Linked DNA regions of Homo sapiens: regions 1, 2, 3, 4 and 5 are each linked to region 6. Evidence: promoter capture Hi-C in 16 types of primary human blood cells and fetal thymus (Javierre and others, 2016). All regions are on one chromosome and are shown on one strand. The core of a region is centred on a gene start or on the middle of the fragment in contact, and the rest is flanking DNA. Distances in the headings are between cores, read along the strand shown.

Region 1 (3,831 bases), core at 602-3,101, 930 kb after region 6:
CTCCATGAAACACCTCAGTAACAATCCTCTCCTGACTCCTCTAACAAGTTTGGATATTTTTTTTCTCAGTAATCTTTATTAAGTCACACCGATAAATTTTTTTTACTAGAAAAACTACTTTTTATACACGAAAAATAAAGGCGGCATTTTGCTTCACAGAAAGTCTGTTCTAAAACCTGTATATATAGTCTCACTGGCACTTCAGATTTCTTTAAAGATGTTTCCTTGCAGTGGCTCACGACTGTGATCCCAGCACTTTGGGAGGATGAGCAGGTTTCTTGAGCCCAGGAGTTCAAGACCAGCCTGGGCAACATAGTGGAACTCTGTCTCTACAAAAATTAGTCGAAATTAGTCGGGTGTCGTGGTGCACACCTGTAGTTCCCAGCTACTCAGGAGGTGGAATAATCACCTGAGTCTGGGAGGCTGAGGCTGCAGTAAGCCATGACTGCACCACTGTACTCCAGCCTAGGTGACGGAGTGAGACCCTGTCTCAAAAAAATAATTTCCTTGGCTGGGCACAGTGGCTCACACCTGTAGTATCAGCACTTTGGGAGACTGAGGCAGGAGAATCACTCAAGCCAAGGAGTTCAAGACCAGCCTGGGCAACCCTATCTCTACAAAAAATTTAAAAGGCAGGTGTGGTAGCACACACCTATAGTCCCATCTACTCTGGAGGCTGAGGCTGGAGGATCACCTGAAGGCAGAGTTACCATGAGCTATGATTTTGCCACTGCACTCCAGCCTAGGCAACAGAGTGAGACCTGTCTCTAAAAAATAAAAGCAGTGGGCCAGGCGCGGTGACTCACGCCTGTAATCCCAGCACTTTGGGAGGCTGAGGCAGGCGGATCACCTGAGGTTAGGAGTTCAAGACCAGCCTGGCCAACATAACCCCATCTCTACTAAAAATATAAAAAAGTTAGCCAGGTGTGGTGGCACATGACACATAGGCCCAGCTACTCAGGAGGCTGAAGCAGAACCCGGGAGACAGAGGTTGTAGAGAGCCGAGATCACGCCACTGCACTCCAGTCTAGGCGACAGAGCGAGACTTCCTCTCAAAAAAAAAAAAAAATTCTTTTTTAAATAAAAAATGTGGCTGGGTGCAGTGGCTCACACCTGTAATCCTAGCACTTTAGGAAGCTGAGGCGGGCAGATCACTTGAGGTCAGGAGTTCGAGACCAGTCTGGCCAACATGGTGAAAGCCAAAAATTAGCTAGGTTTGGTGGTGCGTGCCTGTAGTCCCAGATGCTCGGGAGGCTGAGGTGGGAGAAACTCTTAAATCCAGAAGGCAGGGGTTGCAGTGAGCCGAGATCGCACCACCTGTCCAGCCTGAGTGACAGAGAGAGACCCTGTCTCAAAAAATAAAATATGATAAATAAAAAATTTAAAAAGTTTAAAAATTAAAAAAATTTTGTTTAAATACAATAGACACTTATCTCCATATTCTTACAAGAGACACCAATACTTAGAACACAAAATATCATTCTTACTGCCATATTGTCAGTATTCATGCAATAATCAAACCAGAGGAAAAATTGTTACCGAAATATTTAGAGTTCCAGTCCAAAAAATTTGGTTCAATCAAGAAAAATTAGTGACTAGAAATACTTTCCGCAACTATTATTCTATGTGCCCGGATGTAACTAAATTCAAACTCTAACTTCACGCTCTAAATGAACATAAACCATCTCTGAAGTAGAGCACTAGCAAGATAATGGGTCAGAAACCCATAGCAGGTAAGATGCCCGCTGCAGTCCAGGCTGGAATGACAGGAAGATCGTGTGCAGGATGGATCTGGCAGAGCCCCTTTGTCTCTACTTGGTATTAGGTCTGTGTCCCACCCACACAATGAAGGGAGGAAAAAGCAAATAAAAAGATCTTGAGTTCAATTCCTACCAGTTCCTGAAAGGTTATTAGCTGAAATGTGAGGACTTAGATTCTCGCATGGTCCCTCTGCACTCGTACCTACTCACTGTAGGCTAGAACCCCTAACAAGAGGGTGAGGCACGGGTGAGGATCAGGTACAAACTGGACAATCCCTAATGTACAAAATTTCATCGAAATCTCTGTATGTGTGTTATAACTATCTAAATACATGTTTCTTGGTACTAAAAGTAGCCACCCTTTCCACCAGCTACTTATTTCATTAAGAAAAAAAGAAAAAGCCCTATGAGATTCAACTTTCCAAATTAAATTCTTTCATTAATTACTGCTTTTTATAGCAAAAGTATGGGCTGCGATTACTTTGAGTGCAGTAACATTTCGGAGATTTGCCACATTCCATCTCTATGTTACCATTTGGTAACTGAGAGGAGAGTAGTATTCACACTTCTTTCTAATAGACCCCTTGATGCAGTCATCCATGGATGTACCATCAAAAACCATAACAATTCAACTATTTGATCAAGAAGTACCTCCTCATACAGTTACCAGTGATTTTTGTACTGACCGAAAACTTCAGGTAACAATAGTGCCACTTACCTTGCAGCTTCTTCACCTTAGCTTCTAGTTTCTTCTTCCTAATAACGAAATTGTGTAAGTTAAATGGCAAGAAAGAGAGAATAGGAAAAAATATGCCTTATAATTTGTGGCACATATTTTTTAAATTACAAATATTTGTATAACAAATGTTCAGTCTGAACTAGTATCCTAAGAGAGAATAATATACTATTTAGTATGAAATATCTTTACAGTGGATTAAAAAATTCTGTTCTTTCCACTTGAAACACATGCCATGGGCCTGTCAAATTTCTGCCATGAGTACATCTGGGACCCTTCCTGAACTGCAGTGGCATCATTCATGAGACTAGCTGAAGTTTCTAGATGGTCTCTAAGAGTCAGTCCAGAGTCTAATGAGTTAAGGTTACTCTTCAGGAGCATGCATAGCGTTAACAGTGGTCACAGCACCACCGTATGGAAAGCAGTGGTTGAAGAGCTACACTTGCTTTAAGATGGATTTCTGAGAGTCTGAAAAGGTGGATAACTCTCTGAGTCACTGCTTCATTACATCTACATTCAACTGTTTTATGTATAGCTCACATTTGTTGTGAATAACATGACTATAGTATGAACCTCAATGATCAAGGGGATGCTTCTGAACAGCCCTTTTTATGAATAGTAGCAAAGATACCCATTCCACATGCTATCGGTTAAAGCACTGGCACAAAGCAAGGGGTCAGTCATTATGTTCTGACACACAGACACAAGTGAATGAGTACATAATGCATTATATACACAGACAAACACCTTTAGACACACACAGACACATGTGCATGCAAATATAATGCATATACATACAGAGACAAACACCTTTATGGAGTTCTTTGTGCAGCCCTTTAACATATGACAATTTATTTAATGTTCCTTATGACCCTTCAAAGTAGATATAACTTCCAGTTTACAGATGTGGAAACCAAGGTTGAGAGACTAACTAGTTCAAGACCATGCAGCTAATTATGGCCAAGAAATCCAAAGACTGTAAAAAAAAAAACACTACCGACTTAAGAATTACGTATTTTCAAAACTGAAAACCGTATTTCTATAGTAATTTAGTAACTACTTACTGAGCATCACTCTTCAAGCATTCTTCCTTTACACGAGCATATTCCTGATGAGTATCCTGATACAACTTTAAAGAACTCTTTAAAAAAAGAAAAAAAACAGATATTGTCAAAATGAAAGTCACTGACCATTGGTCATAACTTGCTTTGCCTTTGATAAGCTATTAACCAAATAAACAGACATTAGGCAGAAAAAATAGTCACTGAATATTTTAATAGAGGTAACCAGATTCTTAATAGATGAAATATGACTAACAATATAATCCAACAAAAA
Region 2 (3,859 bases), core at 683-3,182, 890 kb after region 6:
TATCCATGGCTTACTTTTATTTTTTATTATAAAAACACATACAAGAGTTTTAAGAAATAACGAATATAAGACAAATCAAAACCATGGTGAGTTATTAAACCCATTTTCTATATACAAATACTAAAATTCCCAAAGTGGAATATCATCCAATGTGAGACACATCATAGCACGGTCCATATGTACACGGCACACAGAGCTCTGCCTGCGCTCATCTGTGAATTGCTCATTACATGTCACTGATAAAAAAATCTGCAAGGGAACTTCTACTCTTCAGTTCTCCTCTTCCTGATGCATTGTCACATATTTTTAAGGAACTTTAGGGATATGAAGAAAATGCATTAAAGTGGGTTTCTGCTAAGGGCTCTGCATGTTTTGCTCTGATCAATTACGCACTACATCTTGAGAAAAACTTTTGCAACTCATTTCCAGCAAAGATAGCAGAAAACTCTAGGTTTTTGCCAATTTATTTTTTCCTAGTCACTCATTGGAACACAAGTCCAACAACAACAGCTCAGGAACCAAATCATGTTTTTATATTGGTAAGTTCATTATAAAATGCCACTCAATTTTAAGAAGCCACTAAAAGGACACTTTCTGCAGCAAAAAAAGGGCTAAGTTCAAGTTTTTGTTGTTTGACAAAGACACAATAATATAACCCATATGTCACAGATCACAACAGCCTTAAGTGAAACGTATTAGATTTAGGGAAAAACGACTATGCGACTGCTTGTTTCTCCTGTCTCCTTGCCAAACAATAAGGAGAGCCTCTGGTCTGTTTTATCTATTTTATGTCTTTTTGTTTTGAAACCTCCCTTTGTATTCTGAAAGCTGATCAAACTATTTGTGTTCAAAATGTGTCAAGGCACTTCTCAAGCCTCAGTGGCATCCCAGGTCAGCCAAGCTCCTCTGTGCTCAGGGCACTGACTTCCTCTAGGCAGCTGACAATCGCAGACGGAACGCTTTTGGAGGCCTCTCTCCGCCAAGCTTCCAGGATCTTGGAAATTTCTGCTGGATTGCTGGGACTCAAGTCACAAAGAGCATACACGGCTGCTAACTGTATACCCCATGGTATATCTGAAAAGAAATTTCAGATCAGTCATAAAACAAGAAAATATCTGTTATTCAAAATTTTAGTGATGTAACCTACTGGAATACTATTCAAATACAGAATGCTTTCTGCCAGCAATGAAAATTAAATATAAAAAAACCCACAGTAAAAAAATTCATTTAAGACCTGTCCACAAATAAAAAAGAAGAAAAGCCAGACAGTAGCTGTCTGTAGTTTCCTGGCCCCAGCAGTGTTCTGAGGACTGTTTGTGTGTTTTTAAAAAGGAGAGGGCCTCCAAGATCCCAGTCACCCACGGCCACGACTGAGCTTCCCAAAACAGTTCTGGAAGGATCACACTCCCATATTTAAGTTTTAATAAAACGTGATCCTAAAACCTTCATTAAACATATGACTCTATGAGATATCCACGGGAAGCATTTATAAATGGACTTTGGAAATGAGAAAACATAATAAGAGATATAATGAAAAACTTTTTGTAGCGTACCATACTTTCAAAAACTACAGTGTATGATTCTGGATTACAGCTAAGTTATACATTACAGTGTATTATCACAGTTCTCTTTTAAGGTAAGTTTATTTCAGAGTTATGAAAATTTCATTTACTTAGATAATTTAGGTTAAACAATTTAGGAGTTAAAGTTGGAGGTTGCACTGTATTCCTACTCCAAAAATCTGAAATCCAAAATGCTCCGAAGCTGAAACTTCTGGAGCATCAACATGACCCACAAAGGAAATACTCACTGGAGCATTCTGATTTTCTGATTAGGGATGCTCTCAACTCATAAATATAAAGGAAACACTCCAAAATCCAAGAAAATCTGAAGTCTAAAACACTTCTGGTCCCAAGCATTTCAAATAAAATATACTCAATGTGTACCTCAGTTTTCTCCAACAAGGTAAACTAGCACTATTTCAAATAATACAAAAGCCCACACATTCAAACATGAATGCTGACAAGCAGGCACAACTGCAGCTCTTAATATTACTCCCCCCCATAAACCACAAGCAATGAGAAAGCACAGAGCACGGGGCACACAGTAAGGCCATGACTCAAACAAATAAAAAAGTGTAACAGTAAGAGAAACACAAGAGGTTAAAAATAATTTTAATAAATAACAGCATGTGGCACTATTTAAAGAGCTAGCTCTGGAGAGGGACAGACCTGGGCAAACAGCAGGGATGGCACTTCCTAGCCTCACCTTCAGCAAATCACTCTTCTCTCTGAGCTTTGGTTTCCTCCTGTATACAAGAAGGACAATGCCATCCACTCAGATGGCTGTCTTGGGGATCCCGTTAGGCTGTGGGGCAGTGCCATGCACAAGGTCTAATCTATAGCAGGCCCCAACATCAGCTCCTCCTTCTCCCTCATGGGGACGAGGATTACCACAGCTTCTAGGTTACACCCACTGTAGTATCAGAGTAAACTGCATCTGCTGGCAAAACAACTCATTAGCCATTATTCTGGCTACTTTCTTTTATGTCAATATACAACCTCAATTGTAAAAAAGTACACTGTAATATGGAAGAAATGTGTACCACTTCAGCAGCTATCCTAAAGTTAAAGAAGGTATTTCAGATAAAGCAGCTTAAATGAGAAACACTGTTCTCATTAAGCTAAATATACAGTCTCCCACTGAAAGCTGAAGACAACCTACCATGTTAAGATCATCTTGGGTGTTATACAGTATTTAAAATGTAACTCTGTGCATTTCTGATGGCATGTTGCTTAACTGTATTATTCCTTGATTATACAATATTCAAAATAAAAACTAGATTCATCCCTTATAAGAGTTACTTTGAGTTAAGCTTCTCCCACAAGAGATAAAATTACATGCTATGCAATACGTAAATGATAATAGAAATCCCCACTACGAAGCCTTGCTCACAAGGTCTCCAGGTTTCCAAGCTCTCCCCCCTTGATGCTAAGTACTCTGTGATACCTGGCATCTCACTGTACATCACGGATTTCATTCCGTCAAGACACAGCTCCACCCAGGAGGCCTCGCAGAGAGCCCAGGTTAAGTCACTTGTCAGGGATCACACAGTACAGAGTTTTAGAGGCAGAATGTTAGCCGCAGGAAGAGAAGAGACTTTCTTCTTCCTTAGGAAAGCAGTGCCCAACAAGGCAAACGACTTTTATTTAAGTAATCAAATACCACCACAAAATCCACACACACATTCCAATATTAATGCTGGAATGTTTTGCAAATATTCCCTAATCTATGAGGCAGCAAGCAAAGCACAGAGCACAGCACACAGCAAGGACCCCAAAAAAGGTTTAACTATGAGAAACACAAGTTACTTAAAAGTAATTTTAATAGATGTAAGTTTTACCTTCATCGTGAGCATGCTGTATAAACATACCAATAACCGAACTAATATTTTTCACAGCAGATGGAAATCCTTCTTTCAAACCCAATTGGCCTAAACGACCTAGGGGAAACAAACCAAAATGTAAACAGTCCAGTTAAATGTTGATTAACTTTTCCTAAGAATTTAAAGGTCCACTTCTCTTACAAGAGGTGATCAAAATGCCTCATCATTTCGTCTTGCAATCACCTATACCAGATGATATACAATGTGTTGCTTTCCAAGTTACAATGGAATAAATAGAATTTAGAAGAAAGAATGGTTTCAGTAGGGCCAATGTGAAACGCCTGACTTCTGTTAAGTTAACAGATCAAAGATAAGACTATGGTCCCACCAAAATATGTATTTTTGGTCTGACACTTTGGCAACTGCTATTATACCACAGAGCAGTAATTCTCAAGTGTAGTCTACAGAAACCTT
Region 3 (3,881 bases), core at 686-3,185, 870 kb after region 6:
TTGCCATCTTGAGTCCAAATTCCACAGAGCAGCAGGCTGGAAACTCAAGTTTCCATATTGCAGTCTTCAGACAGAATTTCTTCTTCTTTGGGAAACCTCCATCTTTGCACTTCAGGCCTTCCACTGATTGGATGGAGCTCACCCACATCCTTGAGGGTCATCTCAGTTAGAGTGAACTGATTATAGATGTTAATCACATCTGGACAAGATCTTCAGAGCAACATGTAAACTGGTGTTAGACCAAACTACCATACACCAAAGGCCAGGCAATTTGATACATAAAATTAATCATCCGAGCTGGCATAGATTGTCTTCTTTCTAGAACTTCCACAGGGCAAGAACAGTGATTTTCCCCCAAAAAGCGGCCAGTCCTTGGGGTCCATCAGCTGCTGTCCTGGAACCACAAGAGCTCCCAGCATGGGGAACTGCAGAGGGAAGAGGGAGGGACAGACAGCTGGTGGTTCTTGCGCTGCTCTCAGATTCTGCCCTTTTTCCTCCTAGACGGTTTTGTTGAGGAATCTCCAAGGACCATGGTGGTTCCTACCATGCTCTCTCAGCCTCAGGGGTGACATAATTATGCAGATGCACCCAAGGGAAACTTTAATTTTAGTGCAATTTATACACGGAAGTGCTCAGATCTCAAGTATACCTTACGGTGCCTGTCAAGACACAGAGCATCTTCCCCGTCCCAGAAAGGCACCTAATTCTCCTTCCCGTGAGTCCTCCACTGCAAAACCTGCACTGATCAGATTTCTGTCACCCTCAGTCTCTTGTGCTTATTTCTTCAAGTTTGTATGGATTAAATCACCTGGGATGTACACTTCTGTGTTTGCTGTACTCCTCTTAGCCTGTTACTCTTGAGACTCATGCATATTGTGTGCTGACTGCTATCCAAGTGCATGAGCAAAGCATAATTTACCCACGTGTTGATTAAACAATCCAGGTTTGACTATTATAAAAGTCTTTTTTGTAAAGGAACTTTTATGAATATATTGCATTTATTTTTGACAAATACCTGGGAATGACATCACTGGGTCATAGGATGGAAGTATATTATTTTAGGAGAAGACAGACAGTTTGCCAAAGTGGCTGTACCATTTTCCACCCCTGCCAGCAGCAGATAAGCATCCCAGGGCTCCGCATTCCTCCCAGCACCTGCTGCAGTCAGCCTTGGGCATTGCAGGTCTTCTAGGGCAGCATGCGGTAGGAGCTCCTGGGGTGTCTAGTTTGTATTTTCTTGATGGTTGATGAAGTTGAGCAGGTTTTCATGTGCTTATTTGCCATTTTTATGTCTTCTTTTGTGAACAGCCTCTTTGCTTTTTTTCTCCTTTAAATTGTGTTCTTTGTCTTATTATCATTGAGTTTTAGAAGTTCTTCATGTAATTTGGATACAAATCCTCTTTCTTATGAATACATTCTCACAGTCTGTGACTTAACTGTTTATTTTGTTGATAATGTTTTGTGATGAAGATTTTATTTTTTTTGAGACAGGGTCTCATTCTGTCACCCATGCTGGAGTGCAGTGGTATGATCTTGGCTTACTGCAACCTCTGCTTTCTGGGCTCAAGAGATCCTCCCAGCTCAATCCCCCAAGCAGCTGAGAGTACAGGAGCGATCCACATGCCTGGCTAATTTTCGTATTTGTTGAGCTCAAGCAATCCACCCACCCCGGCCTCCCAAAGTGCTAAGATTACAGGCATGAGCCGCTGTGCCTGGCCGGATTGTTTTATCTTGATGAAGTATAATTAATCGTTTTTTAATTTTATCAGCATGTTTTTTGTCTCCTAAAAAATCTTTGCTTGCCCCAAGATCACAGACGTAATCTTCTGTGTTTTCTTCTAGAAGTTTTATGATTGTTTTAGCTTTTACATTTGGGTCCATAATTCATCTCAAATTGACTTTGTATGCAGTATATTAGTGATCAAGTTCTTTTTATAGTGGATCTCACATAAGGCACATTTTAAAATATAATTACAAAATATTGATTACAGTTGACTCTTGAACATTGAACAATGTGGGGTTAAGGGCACCAACCCTCTACACAGTCCAAAATTTTTTGACTCCCCCCAAATTTAGCTACTAATAGCCTGTTGACTGAAAGCCTTACCAATAACAGAGTTAATTAATACGGGTTTTCTATATTGTGTGTATTATATACTGTATTGTTACAATAAAGTAATCTAGAAAACAGAAAATGTTATTAAGAAAATCATAAGGAAGAGAAAATGTATTTACTTTTCATTAAGTGGAAGCAGATCTTCCCAAAGGTCTTCATCCTGGTTGTATTTTCTTGAGTATGCTGAGGAGGAGGAGGGAGAAGATAAATTGTTCTGATTGTCTTAGGGGTGGCAGAAGCAAAAGAAAGTCTGCAGGGTTCAAACCCATATTGTTCAGGAGCAACTGTAATAGAGTAGCAATATAGACTTGCTTCCATTTGGCTGTTAACACGGGATTTGAAAACTGGCTTTAGTACACCTGAGAGGGTTAGAGAAACTCATGTAATTCACCGCCTCCTCTTGCTTTTCCACTTCCTCTACTTGGGACTACTTTGACTTACTAACCACATTTATTTATCACTGTCGGTTTCCTTGCTGTCAAAATAGAAGTTTATTTTCATCCCCCCTGTGTGTAGCACAGCACATGTGACAGACATTCTCCAGATGGTATTGCCTCCCTTGATATTTTTCTCTCTTTCCTTTTTTTAAATTATGAAATTTACCATTCATGGATATATATGCACAGTTTAAAGAATAAACATACTCTCTTTTTCTCCCTCATACACAAATTTATAAGGTTTTTTATAATTATACAAATATGTACCCTTTTTTGGTGCTTTTCATTGCTTCTTACAGGTTCAGGGTTAAATCTGTTATAATTTTTCTTCAGCCTGAGACAATTATCGTAGTATTTCTTTTTTTTTTTTTTTTTTCCTTTTGAGACAGGGTCTCCCTCTGTCGCTCAGGCTGGAATGCAGTGGCATGATTGTGACTCACTGCAACCTCTGCCTCCTGGGTTCAAGTGATTCTCATGCTGCAGCCTCCCGAGTAGCTGGGACTACAGCTACACACCACCAGGCCCAGCTAATTTTTGTATTTTTTTGTGGAGACACGGTTTCACCATGTTAGCCAGGCTGATCTTGAACTCCTGACCTCAAGTGATCTACCTGCTTCAGCCTCCCAAAGTGCTGAGATTTACAGGCATGAGCCACTGCACACAGCCAATTGTGGTATTTCTTAAAGAGAAGGTCTGATGGAGAGAAATTCTCTTAGCTTTTATCTCTTGAAAATGTATTTATTTTCCCTTCATTTTAAAATTAATCTCCTTTTTGAGATAATAGTAGATTCAGATACAATTGTAAGAAATGCAGAGAGATCCCACATATTTTTTACTGAGTCTCCTCCAATGATGACAACTTACAAAATTATAGTACAATATCATAATCAGGTATAGACATTGATACAGTCAAGATGTAGAACAGTTCCATCACCTACAGGATCTCTCATGTTGCCCTTTTTTAGAAACACTTAACTGTCTCTTCCCTACATCCATCCATGACCCCGGTAACCATGAATCTGTCTTCTCTTTCTATAATTTTCTCATTTCAAAAATGAAATTACACAGTATTTGATATTTTGAAATCGGCTTATCTTCATTTTTGAAGGCTATTTCTGCAAGATGTGGAATTCTAGGTTGGTAGTTATTTGTACATATGTGTGTGCATGCATGCTCTCATGTATCCTTTCAGCTCTTTGAGGATATCTGTCTGTTGTTTCTATTAAGTCTGGTGAGAAGTCAGTGACTGCACTTATCTTTGTTCTCCTGTACATAATGCGCATCTTTTATCTGGCTCATTTTAAAAATCTGCTCTTTAGTTTTGGTGG
Region 4 (3,672 bases), core at 1,019-3,518, 830 kb after region 6:
AGTGTCAGGCACACGGTAATGGTCCAGCAAATGACAGCCGTAACAGTGAACCAGCATGGTTTCCAATCATCAGCTGCCATGTGCACTGCAACCAAGGCAGACTTGGATGAGGGCTGTGATGAAACCTGAGCATGAAAGCCATCTTCAAGGAGGAAGGGGTGGTGGTGGCCAGGACTGCAGTTTCTAGGGCAGGTGGGATCACAGGTGGAACCTCCAGGTGGTCCACGCAGTGTCTGAGGCATGACAGTCTCCATGCTGATCTCATAGGCAGTTAATAACAGAAAAACATCAAAGCGGGCAGATGTCCCAATGCTGTGAACATTTCAGAGCAAAAGGATGGCATTGTTATGCGGGCACTATCTTTTTTAGCACGATCACAACCAGGGAGGAGAGGGCTGGTGGGAGAGGGGCAGGGTCTCGGGAGCTTAGCTACATGGGTGGGTCCTAATACTTTCCCGTGCATATGTACAACATTCTTGTGAAATAGATTTATCTAATATGCGGTTAAGATATCGCTATATAGATGACTTCCACCTCTGCTAATATCAGATGAATCCTCCTCAATGTGAACAAGAAGAAAATCTGAGAAAATATTGTTCAAATGTATTTAAAGGTGTCAGAAAGCTAATGTAGTAATAAAAATTTACCCAGCCAAGGTTTGAGAGAAAAATAAAACATAGACAGGTGTTTCTGGCATGTGGGCCAATTTTACCCCTAAAAGCTTCTCTTTATTCTGAAATAAGCTGCAGAACAAGTAAAGATGAACAGAGCCCTTGACAGATTCCCAGAGACAGAGACAGAAACTGGAATTTAAGGCACTTCAGGTACAGACGGTGGCTATGGTAAGCACCTATGATTTAGGCTGGGACATCAAAGAGTTATATTATAGAATTAAGAGCAACCAGAAACACACTGACTCTCAGACAAAATCAGTATCCAAGCTTTGAGCCATGCCGATCCCTGAGGAGTCAAAGTAATCCTGGCCTTCGAACTCCCTAGCCTAGTTACCCTCTGGTAGCCAATTGAAACCCTCTGTGTAGAAAGATGGCATCATCCAGAGACTCAAATTAGCTCTACAAGTTTTCAAATACAATGCCTATGCCCAGTCTAAAATTATTATGCATAAGGAGATAAGAAAAAATTATTTAAAATAAAGAGAAATAGTACACCCATAAGTGAGTCAGATAATGGCATTATCAGATACAGACTTCAAAATAGCAAGGGTTAATACATTTAAGGAAATAAAGGCTACACTGAGAATTCCTGTAGAGAACCAGAAACTGTTTTTCTAAATCCAAGTGGATGTTCTAGGACTGCAATAACAGCATGCTAATGGATTTAAGAGAAAATTATAAAAAGCTAAAGATGAAATTATTAAACTGAGATAGGTCAGAAAGAATTATCCAGACAATGTAATGAGAATTACAGAAAGAACAGAAGAGATGCAGAGATGTGGTAAGATGGTCTACATTACTTATAACTGAATTTCCAGAAACACAAGAGAAAAATAAAGAAGCAAAAAATAATAATTTTCCAAAATTGATGGAAGCCCTCAAGCCACATATTCAAGAAGTTCTACAAACCCCAAACAAGATAAATGCAAAACACCACACCTAGACACAGGATGGAAAAATCCCTAAAAACAAAAGAAAAAGCAAGCAGAGAAAAAAAGAAAATTACTTTCGAAGTGGTCTCCATAAGACTTAAAACAAATGTCTCACTCGAAATGATATAAAAACCAGAAGAGAATAAAAAGATATCTTCAAATTCAAAAAAAAAAACAACAAGATTTTAAATTTAGTTAGGTTCTAGAAAAATATATCTCAAAGACAAAAGTAAAATTAAGACACATTGGGACAAACAAAATTGACAGAATGTGTCAGCATTGGAACCACACTGAAGAAAATGCTCAAGGAAATGTATTCATCTGCTGCTAAAACCTGAAGAAGGAAGAGAGGTGAAGCTTGAAATATGTGAGTAAATCTAAACAGAATTGTTGATTAAAACGACAATAATGCAGAATTAAAATAAATGGCCATAATAATACATAAGGTGGGAGGAAGCTAAATGGAGTTAGGGCAGCCTGAATTTCCTGCACTGAGTGCAAAGGAGTGAACCTGCTTATGTATATTTGACTTGGTAGGTCAAGGACACCTGTTATGTTCTCTTAGCAGGATCACTGGTTTTAGAAGAGTGTATAACGACCGAGTAATGAACCGAATGTCTGTGTCCAAAAAATGTCTGTGTTGAAATCTGAACCCTCAGTGATCTCTAATGAGATGGTACTAGGAGGCGGGCCCTCTGAGAGGTGATTAGATCAGGAGGGTGGAGCCCTCGTGATAAGTGTTCTTATATAAGGAGCACGTCTCTCTCTTCCCCAGCCGCCCAATCTCTCCCTCTGTGAGGGCAGTGCCATGTGAGGGCACTGTAAGAAAGTAGCCATCTGTGAGCCTAGAATAAGACCCTCACCCCAAACCCAACCATGCTGGCAGCCTGATCTCAGACCTCCAGGCCCCAGAACTGTGAGAATTAAATGTTTGCTATTTAAGCCACCCAGTCAATGGTAAGCTTGCTACAGCAGCCTGAACCAACTAAGACTAAGAAATTAAATAATTAGGCAGGGCGCAGTGGCTCGCACGTATAATCCCAGCACTTTGGGAGGCCGAGGAGGGCAGATCATGGGGTCAGGAGTTCGAGACCAGCCTGGCCAACATAGTGAAACCCCATCTCTACTAAAAATACAAAAAAATAGCCGGGTGTGGTGGTAGGCACCTGTAATCCCAGCTACTGGGGAGGCTGAGGCAGGAGAATTGTTTGAACCCGGGAGGCGGAGGTTGCAGTGAGTGCCATTGCACTCCAGCCCGGGTGACAGTGCGAGATTGTCTCAAAAAAAAAAAAAAAGAAGAAGAAATGAAATAATTATTATAAAAAAATACTTAACCAATTCAATAAAAAGGGGCAATGTTAAGGAGAAAAACAAGGAAGAAGAACATCTCTTCCAGATATCAAGACTTACTAGACCATAATTAAGACACTTTGGTACTGACATAAGGACGAACAATCTTATAAAAATGGAATAACCTCTTTGGAAAACTGGCATAAGCAACTACATATGGTCATTTGCTGCACCACGAAGGTGGCCCTGAAACACAATGAGGATATAATGGTCTCTCCAGTAAATGGTGCTGACACCCATAGGGAAGTAAATGAATCACAGGACATAAAATCAATTCCAGGTGGATTAAAGACCTAACTGTGAAACATAAAGCAAAAAGAGTTCTAGAGAATGACAGAATATCTTCATGACCTTGGAAAAGACATAAATGAAAAGACTAACAGAGCTGTGTTAAATTTAAGAAAGTGCGTTCATCAAAAAAGACATTAATAAGGGAGTGACAAGGCGAGCCTCGGAGTAACAAAAGATCTTTGCATCACAGACAACCTCCAAAGGACTAGCATGCAGAAACCCTAGTAATCAACAAGAAAAAGAGAACCCTATAGAGAAAAGCAGGCAAGAGACTTGCAGGGAGAGCAGAATATGGACCCTAATATATGAAGAATTGTTGAGCTGAAGGCGATTAAGAAGCAGCAGAAACAGAGAAGTTCTCCGTGCTCTATTTGCCTAAAAGCCAGACATAGATTTACAAAGACAAAGGGAATCCTGCCCACCCC
Region 5 (4,065 bases), core at 1,359-3,858, 920 kb after region 6:
GTCATCTACACATTTTGCTGACAGTAAACAGCATCTGTCTTTGAGGACATGTAATCCCTAATGCACTTAGAAAAGAGCAGCCACATACCTTTTTTGTTGTGCTAAATTCATAAACAACTTCCTTCTCTTGATCTCTCATTACGGGCTTTTTGGAGATATTTCCCACATACACATGACTACGAATGACAGGTAACAGATCAAAAGAAAACTCTGCAATTTTCTTCAGGGCATTAGCTATGGCTTTATCATGGGACTCCACAGTTTCTTTTGGGCTTAAAGGCAACTGTGAAACTGCACTGACGGCTGGACTAGAACAACTTCTTTCCTCATTTGTTGTTGCAACTTCAGCTGGAGGGAGGTTCCCTGGGAGGTTTTTGTGGATTCCTTCTGCAGTGACTCCCCTGGTTTCTGGTTCTGGGGACCCAGTGTCCAGGCGCAGTCTTTTAGCACTTCTCAGTGTAGACGTTGACAGTGTTCTTTTCCCGCTTGAATCCTGCTGAGTCCCCAAATCTCTTGACTTGTCTTGGTTACAGTCACCACCAGAGCTGCTCCCAGTTTTGACAAAAGCAGTTGCTGCTGAAGTGATCGTTTTGAATCCTATCATAGCACTGGCAGGTCCCGGTAAATTCTTACAGTCAGCAGGCGGACCTCGTGTGAGTTGAATATTCCCTTTGAGGATGTTGAGGGTCCGGGCCCTGGCAGATAACTCTGGATACATGGTGTCAAGGATTTTCACAGAATTCTCCTGAGGCCCTCCCACAGCAGCGTGGCCAGATGCACAGGGTGGGAGTCGGCCAGGCACAGGAAGTGCGTGCTTCGGCGTGGCCGCACAGAACTGCAGAGGAGACGGCACTACCCTCTCACTGGCTGAAGCTGCAGATGGAGATGGAGAAGGATCTGGAGGAGAGGCACGTCTGGGGTCCTCTGGCCATGGAGACATGGCAGGAGGCACTGGGGTTTCACGGAAGGGAGAAACCTGGCCAACAGGAGAGGCTGGTGAGGAAGGACTAGAACTCGATATCAGTGGAGACAGTGGCTGTGAAGTCCTTGGAGGTGTAGCTATCAGAGGAGCAAGCAGAGGCGGCAAAGGAGGCCCCACCTCTTGCCGTATTTTACTCAGTGTGTCAGGAGAACAATCTGTAGGAGTGGATGTATCAGCATTTGCTAAAATGGTCTGAGTTTGGCTTCTTTGAGTTTTTGTATTAGCTTTTTCCCCTGAAAATGACTGAGCAACTTCACTCTGATGAGTTTCAACTCTGCTCGACGCTGAAGTTTTTACTGGTTTGTTTGACTGATCTTTGTTTGAAATCTTTGATCGATTCTTATTTTTGCCAGATGGCTCTAGTTTTGAGTTATAATATGTGTGATCAGACGCAACAATCTGAGTCTCGAAGTTTTGATCATAGATTTGAGAACTAATCCATATACTAGGCTTAACGGGTCTATTTCGCAAACGACTCTTATCAAAGTTGGTGCTCTGACCACTGCTTGAAACATCCTCTTGGGGACATGAAAGATTATTGCCACATGGAGCCTCCTGAAATGCAGGGCCAGTGTGACTGGCCTCTGGGGACTTCTCAGCAGAAGTCACTGGGATGCAACCAGCTTCCAGCTCTCCTTGATCCTGAGAAATAGGGATGTCTCCAGGAATGTCACACAGTGTGACCTGGTCCACATGTGGCAAGACAGCTACACCACTGATGATTGTCCAGTTGTCCCCCTTTTCAATGACTAGATTCTGATCCTTATTTATAAGTACGTTTATAACTTCTGAGGTCACTGTTGCTATCTGACACTGAAATGTTGTTTCGGCCTCGCAGTTAGAACTTTGCTCTATGGATGGCTCCATCACAGAGTCAGAGCACAAGGCTGATGGCTCCACAGGTTCTGGCAGGTCTTCTTCCCCACCATCGGTTTGCCTGCCTGCATCTGAACGGGCCTCTGGTCTGCTCTGAGGGTTTTCATTCTGAGGCATACCGCTGATGGGAGAGCTGCCCTCAGTGTCCAAGGCAGCTGCTTGTGGGGTTGGTTCTGAAGCATGTGATGAGGAGCCAGTCGTTTCCCGAAATGGACTTTTCTCTTTTAAATTCTCAGTGGTCATGTTGTTATTTACATTTAAGAGCAATAAACTGCCAGTATCTTTACCATTGCAATCTTCAGAATTTGTTTGAAGTTCTTGCCTAATCTTGGTCAGAACCTCAGACAGAGTTTCCAAAGAACACTGAGTGAGCTGACTTGTATTTTTTAACGAATAATCATCTTCCTCTGATTCAATCCACTCTTCACAGGTTCCAAGTGTTTCTTCCTCACAGGGTTGCTTTCTGTATTTTTCTCCTATTTCACTTGCCTTTAATTCTTTGTTCATTTCTTTACTTAGGGTTCCTTTACTAGAACATTCAGAAACAGAGTCCCCTGAACTATAATCCCCTAACTGACAGCTCTCAAGAAACATCACAACCTCTGATGTGGAAAGTCTATCCAGCTCAGAAAAAGTACTTATGTTAAAATCTTGCAGAGCTGACGTCAAATAACCTACCTCTAAGGAAGGTCTCACCTCGGCTACAGCAGCATCTGTGTCTCCTAAATTTTTCTGTGAGTCATCAGGAGCATCTTGCTGTTCGCTCCCCTCACTGCAGCTAAATGCCTCACTCTCTACCTCAGTGTCGTCTCCCCCCTCTCGAATGCCTGTGTAACAATGTAAGGTACCAGGCAGGCTACTTTGGGAGGTATCCTGTGTCTCTCCATGTTTTCTGCAAAATGCTGAAGAAAAAGTAGTGTCTGTGGTGCCAAAACACTCAGGCAAAGCACCACCGGGAGTTGTAGATTTCAATTTCCAAAGTCCATTAGCATTTTGTGGTGTGCTGGTAGAATCATTTGCAACAGCCAGGGCCTCACCACCAGATCTCCCTGTGTCTCCACAGCTGGTTTCTTCAACAGAAAACCCTCCTGACACAGTCACTTCTGTGGCTGGAAGCATCTCACTGCCATGTGTCCCACTGGAGTCCAGATCTGTGGCCTGAGGCTGCCTTTGCTTCTGCCCATCTCCCTGCACTGCAGCTTCTCTCACAATGTCTTGGTTTTGGATGAGGATATTTTCAGGAGAGAAAGATAATCTGCTATTTGTGGAACAATCAGAATTTTCTACTGGTGAAGAACCACCTGGAGAATTAAAATCTAATTTTCTCCTAGAGGCAGAAACTTCTGGTGAAATGCTTTTCACAGCAGCCACCTCCGTGATGTTTTGTGTTGTATCATCTCTTTCCCCATCACATTTTGCTACAGTTGACATACCGGTTTTGTTGCCACTATTTTCTGTTACTAAGGTAGGCTCAACCCTATGTGGCCTCAAGTGTTCCAATTTGGCACTCTGAACCTTTTCAGGTCTTGTCTGTTTTGTGATAACTGATACTTGATTAGGCAACACCGATGCAGTGGTCTTGAATTCTACAGGATTGTTATTTTCTCTAAGAAGATCAGGCTTGGGTGTTGGTCCTCTATTTTGTAGGAATGGCATTGCCTTTTGTAACTGATGGCTAGTCTTCTGTTCATGTTCTGATTTGGCTCTCAGACTTTCTTCGCCACCTTTCCTTAATAAATCACTATGGTGCCATGAAGTACTTTTAACAAAACCCAAACCACTCTTGATCAAGGCAGCCTGAGAACCTATTAATGATGTGAAATCTGGCTTATTTAGTGTGAGCTCAATTCTTGGATCTTGACTTTCACATTGCCCATCTTTTGTAGCTTTCATAAATACTGACCGAGGAAGTGAATGTATTTTGGTCAAGCCTTTTACTACTTTTGTATATTCTATCCCACTGCTCTTCTGATCATTAAAATTAGATGCTCCCAATTCAGGGCTCAAGGCACACAAGCTATTCTCCAAGTTGTTTCCTCCTATAGAACACTCCGGTGGCTCAGACTGCAGATGTAATGTGTTTAAAGTTTTAGTTTGCAATTTATGTTCTGAATGATGCGGTTCAGTAGAGAATACTTTAGTAGTAATATCTGTATCATTACCACAGTCTAACCCAGAAGAAGACTGGGGATTACTGCCAACAGACA
Region 6 (3,744 bases), core at 502-3,001:
TTCCCTTTCCTCCACATTTTCACCCACACCCATTGTCTTTGGTCTTTTTGATTATAGCCCTTCTAACAGTGTAAGGTGACATCTCATTATGCTTTTAATTTGTATTTCCCTGATGATATGTGATGCTGAGCATTTTTGCTGGTCATTTTTATGTCTTCTTTTGAGAAGTATCTGTTCAGGTCCTTTGCCCATTTATAAATTTCTTCTTTTGCTTTTTTGCTGTTGAGTCGTGTGCCTTTAATTTTTGCACTTTACGTTGTGAGTTTTATTTTCCATGCTTGTTCTTTGCTTCTTTATTCTCTTCTTTTCTTGCCTTCTATTGAGTTGATTGTGTTTTCTTTATTCCCTTCCCCCTGTCTACTAGTTTGGGAATTATATATACTAGCAAAGAGATACCCTTAAATTTTTAAAATAAATACTTACCAAAGCCTAAGTTCCATCAATTATCTATCTTTCTTACTTATGAAATTGAGAAAGGCCGTTCACTCCATGTCGCTACCTCTACCTAATAACTTAAAATTTTTTATTTGTCTAATATTTTATTTCCACCTTTTTTTTTTTTTTTTGAGTCTTGCTCTGTTGCCCAGGCTGGAGTGCAGTGGCATGATCTCGGCTTACTGCAACCTCTGCCTCCTGGGTTCAAGCAATTCTCCTGTCTCAGCCTCCCAAGTAGCTGGGACTACAGGCGCACACCACCATGTCTGACTAATTTTTGTATTTTTAGTAGAGACAGGGTTTCTCCATATTGGTCAGGTCGGTCTCGAACTCCTCACCTCAGGTAATCCACCTGCCTTGGCCTTCCAAAGTTCTGGGATTACAGGCCTGAGCCACCACGCCCAGCCTCCATCTTGTTTTATAATTCCCTAAAGTTAATTGTTGTTAAATCAGGAGAGAAGTATTTTATGTAACATTTCTGTTTATCAGCCCAGCCCACCAACTGGAGTGCCCTGATTCCATAAGTTTGGCAAGTCACTTACCTTCTCTGGCTTTCCATTTCTGGTCACAGCTGGGAGAGGCTCTGAAGATCATCTAGCAAAGGAGCTCCCTCACTTTGCCTGTTTCTAGGCACTGAAAAGTACAGGCCACAAATATATTCAGTAAAATAAATCACTTGAGAAATTCAAACAGGCTAGAGGAGATATCCGCTATCATAGGAGATCGGGCAGAAAAGTTTCTTAAACATAAGAGTGAAATGACCTAAACTGAATTTCAATGAGATAAACAGCAGTTTACTAAGACAGGGCAACCCCACAGGGTGCTGTTTGGTCAGAATTGGCCCGAGGAGGTGAGACCCTGACCTACGAAGGCAGCAGGTGTCCGGGAAGCATGGTTAGCAGCAAGAGCTAGGGGAGGTGGCCGCCGATTACATAGAAGAAAGGAGGCAGGCAGGCGCTGATCCCAGGGGTTCTGGTAGAGGGGCAGGGAAACTACCGTTATTGGTCCTTCATGCAAACTTTAGGATTTTCATCCATGTGTGTATTGCTTGAAGATGCTGCATTGCAGAAAGTCTTCAACTTCTCCCATGACCGAGGCAGGTCTGATGAGAGTGCAAACAGTTAGTACTCGCCCAGCTGCGCGCCGAGGCCTCCTCCAGAATCCAGACCGCATCCCCGAAAGCCCGCCCTGCCCCGCACTTAGGCCCCGCCCCAACACGCCCGTCCCGATAACGAGGCTCCGCCCCCAAGAGCTCGCCCGCGCTCCCCCAGAGGAAACGGAAGTCGTATCTGTCCGGACGGAAGCAGGAAGCGGGAGCGTAGGGCCACGCCTGCGGCGCTGCTGGTTGAGGCTGTGTGGGTCGGGGACGGGCCGAGGCGATGGCGGAGAAGTTTGACCACCTAGAGGAGCACCTGGAGAAGTTCGTGGAGAACATTCGGCAGCTCGGCATCATCGTCAGTGACTTCCAGCCCAGCAGCCAGGCCGGGCTCAACCAAAAGCTGTGAGTGGCGGCCCGAGGCTGCCGGGGTCTCCCCAGGGCCTGGCCGGGAAGCGTGTGCTAGGGGAGCGGGGATCTAGGGAGCCCGAGCCGAGCCTGACCGCTACTCGTGCCCCGCCAGCCCTCTGGTCTGGTCCCGGAGCCCGGGGCGCCTTTCCTGGCTGTGTTCAGAGGGCGGGGCCCGCGCTCCAGCCTGTTGCCAAGAGCCAACCTCTTTGAGGCCCCTTTGGAGACGTCGTCATGGCCAGATGATATACTTTACGTTTCCCTATCAAGGGAATCATGCTTTCTCTTCTAGCGTCTCCCCTCTCATGTGTAACCCCCTCCCAGCCTTTTCCTCCTGGAGCCCTTCTGGGAATTCAGTCCCTGTCTCCAGAGGGGAGGCAGGCTCCACAGTGAGTGCACGCCCTAAACTAGGCCTCAGAAGGTGAGGCTCCGAAGCCACCTGCCGCATAGGCCTGACAGTGGAGGAAATAGCGGGGAGGTGGTGCTGAGAAAGGTTGCAGAACGTTTATTATTATTATTTCTTGGCAACAGCCTTGTGCTGCCCATGTTGCTAGGCCCTGGGTTGGAGAAAAGGCAAATGCAAGTACAGCACTTTCGAGAAGGGCTTTATATGTGGCACGGACATAGAAAATGTTGCACTCGAGGTTCCATACCTAGTGCTGTGGGAATAGCCAGACCAGCCTGATGCTGTAGGAAGGCTCCAGAGAGGAGAGGAAGCTAAACCAGACAGTATGGCTTTCTTTCCCTCAGACTTTGAGTATAGTCCGCTGCCTCATGTGTTCGCTGAAACCGCACACACAGTCATATGCACAGTCAGGTAATTGTTTTTGAGAGAAGGTTCATATTTTTCATCAGGTTCCCTCTCCATCCCCCTTACTGGCAATTTCTAGTTGAGAAGGAAAGTAACAAATATTTAAGGGTATTTTGTAACTCTAACGGTGTCCTAGGAATCCTGTAGCTAACCAAAGAGGTCAGAACCGTGTGTAACCCGCATAGCTGTGAGGAGAACGAACTTGCGTGGAGCCCCGGTTGGCTGGGTAGCTCTGTGGGTGGTGCTTATGCTGTCAAGCGAAATTAACCAGATGCCTGTGTGTTTGCCTTTCCCCCAGGAATTTTATTGTTACTGGCTTACAGGATATTGACAAGTGCAGACAGCAGCTTCATGATATTACTGTACCGTTAGAAGTTTTTGAGTAAGTAACATTCTTGATATTAGTCTTGGGTATAAATCTTGTTCAGTTATGGTGTGGTATCGTGACTTCTTCATCACTGGCATTCGAGTGCCTGCTGTGTGGTAGGCACAGCCTGGGTGCTGGGGATGTGCCAGTGGAAAAAAAAATAGACAAAAATACAAAAATACCTGCCCTTATGGAACTTCCGTTCTAATGGCATTACAAAACGAAAAAAAAGAATATCCTTAATATTCTATTGTGGAAAAAAAGTTACATGTAAATAAAAGCTTATTAAATATATGAAATACATCATAGGTCCTCAAAGCCCTGCTTAGGCTAAAGAACAGCCACAAAACTTTCTTTTTTCCTTAAGAGGTGAAAAGTCCTATGAGGGCTATATTGTAAATTTTTAAAAAATGGCAGCCAGAAGCACCTGAAAAGCAAGCTGGTCTGATGTTCCCAAACTGCCCGTGGAGTGCTAGTTCTGAGAGGTGAAAATATCTGCTCTGTCGAAGGAGGAAAGAAAGGGTTCTTATTCCAAGTATGTTTGGGGAGGCTGCTCACTGTTTTCTGTGCGAGAGTTGTGTGCACCTATGTTAGTAATAGTCCTGAGAACACATACAGGAATGAGCT

What was found. Contacts are between HindIII fragments. The CHiCAGO score rates a contact against its expected background, and 5 or more counts as called.
Region 1: a contact is called between a fragment that was not itself captured here and the fragment with the promoter of MED10 in region 6, in 2 of 17 cell types (naive CD8 T cells and activated CD4 T cells). The highest score is 6.4, in naive CD8 T cells.
Region 2: a contact is called between a fragment that was not itself captured here and the fragment with the promoter of MED10 in region 6, in 14 of 17 cell types (naive CD4 T cells, total CD8 T cells, naive CD8 T cells and 11 more). The highest score is 18.7, in naive CD4 T cells.
Region 3: a fragment that was not itself captured here is called in contact with the fragment with the promoter of MED10 in region 6 in 7 of 17 cell types (naive CD8 T cells, total CD4 T cells, activated CD4 T cells and 4 more); the score reaches 14.4 in naive CD8 T cells.
Region 4: a fragment that was not itself captured here is called in contact with the fragment with the promoter of MED10 in region 6 in 1 of 17 cell types (naive CD8 T cells); the score reaches 5.0 in naive CD8 T cells.
Region 5: a contact is called between a fragment that was not itself captured here and the fragment with the promoter of MED10 in region 6, in 4 of 17 cell types (naive CD8 T cells, total CD8 T cells, activated CD4 T cells and 1 more). The highest score is 8.4, in naive CD8 T cells.

The regions. Positions count from the first base shown.
Region 1 is chr5:5,442,974-5,446,804 of GRCh38, reverse strand. ICE1 (interactor of little elongation complex ELL subunit 1) reads right to left here. Exons shown (of 19, transcript NM_015325.3): 6 at 3,561-3,637; 7 at 2,479-2,516. Among named protein-coding and RNA genes, the nearest start is that of ICE1, 22 kb to the right of the region's middle. The HindIII fragment of the contact is 9,536 bases long and covers 1-3,831 here.
Region 2 is chr5:5,486,364-5,490,222 of GRCh38, reverse strand. It overlaps ICE1 (interactor of little elongation complex ELL subunit 1), which reads right to left. Exons shown (of 19, transcript NM_015325.3): 18 at 3,404-3,502; 19 at 3-1,074. The coding sequence ends at 893. Among named protein-coding and RNA genes, the nearest start is that of ICE1, 66 kb to the right of the region's middle. The HindIII fragment of the contact is 1,891 bases long and covers 987-2,877 here.
Region 3 is chr5:5,504,712-5,508,592 of GRCh38, reverse strand. No RefSeq gene overlaps it. Among named protein-coding and RNA genes, the nearest start is that of ICE1, 84 kb to the right of the region's middle. The HindIII fragment of the contact is 5,351 bases long and covers 1-3,881 here.
Region 4 is chr5:5,542,948-5,546,619 of GRCh38, reverse strand. No RefSeq gene overlaps it. Among named protein-coding and RNA genes, the nearest start is that of ICE1, 120 kb to the right of the region's middle. The HindIII fragment of the contact is 605 bases long and covers 1,966-2,570 here.
Region 5 is chr5:5,461,250-5,465,314 of GRCh38, reverse strand. ICE1 (interactor of little elongation complex ELL subunit 1) reads right to left here. Exons shown (of 19, transcript NM_015325.3): 13 at 89-4,065. Among named protein-coding and RNA genes, the nearest start is that of ICE1, 41 kb to the right of the region's middle. The HindIII fragment of the contact is 5,661 bases long and covers 1-4,065 here.
Region 6 is chr5:6,376,554-6,380,297 of GRCh38, reverse strand. It overlaps MED10 (mediator complex subunit 10), which reads left to right and starts at 1,751. Exons shown (of 4, transcript NM_032286.3): 1 at 1,751-1,936; 2 at 3,049-3,132. The coding sequence starts at 1,815. RefSeq lists enhancers at 1,297-1,516, 1,807-2,016. The HindIII fragment of the contact is 6,030 bases long and covers 1-3,400 here.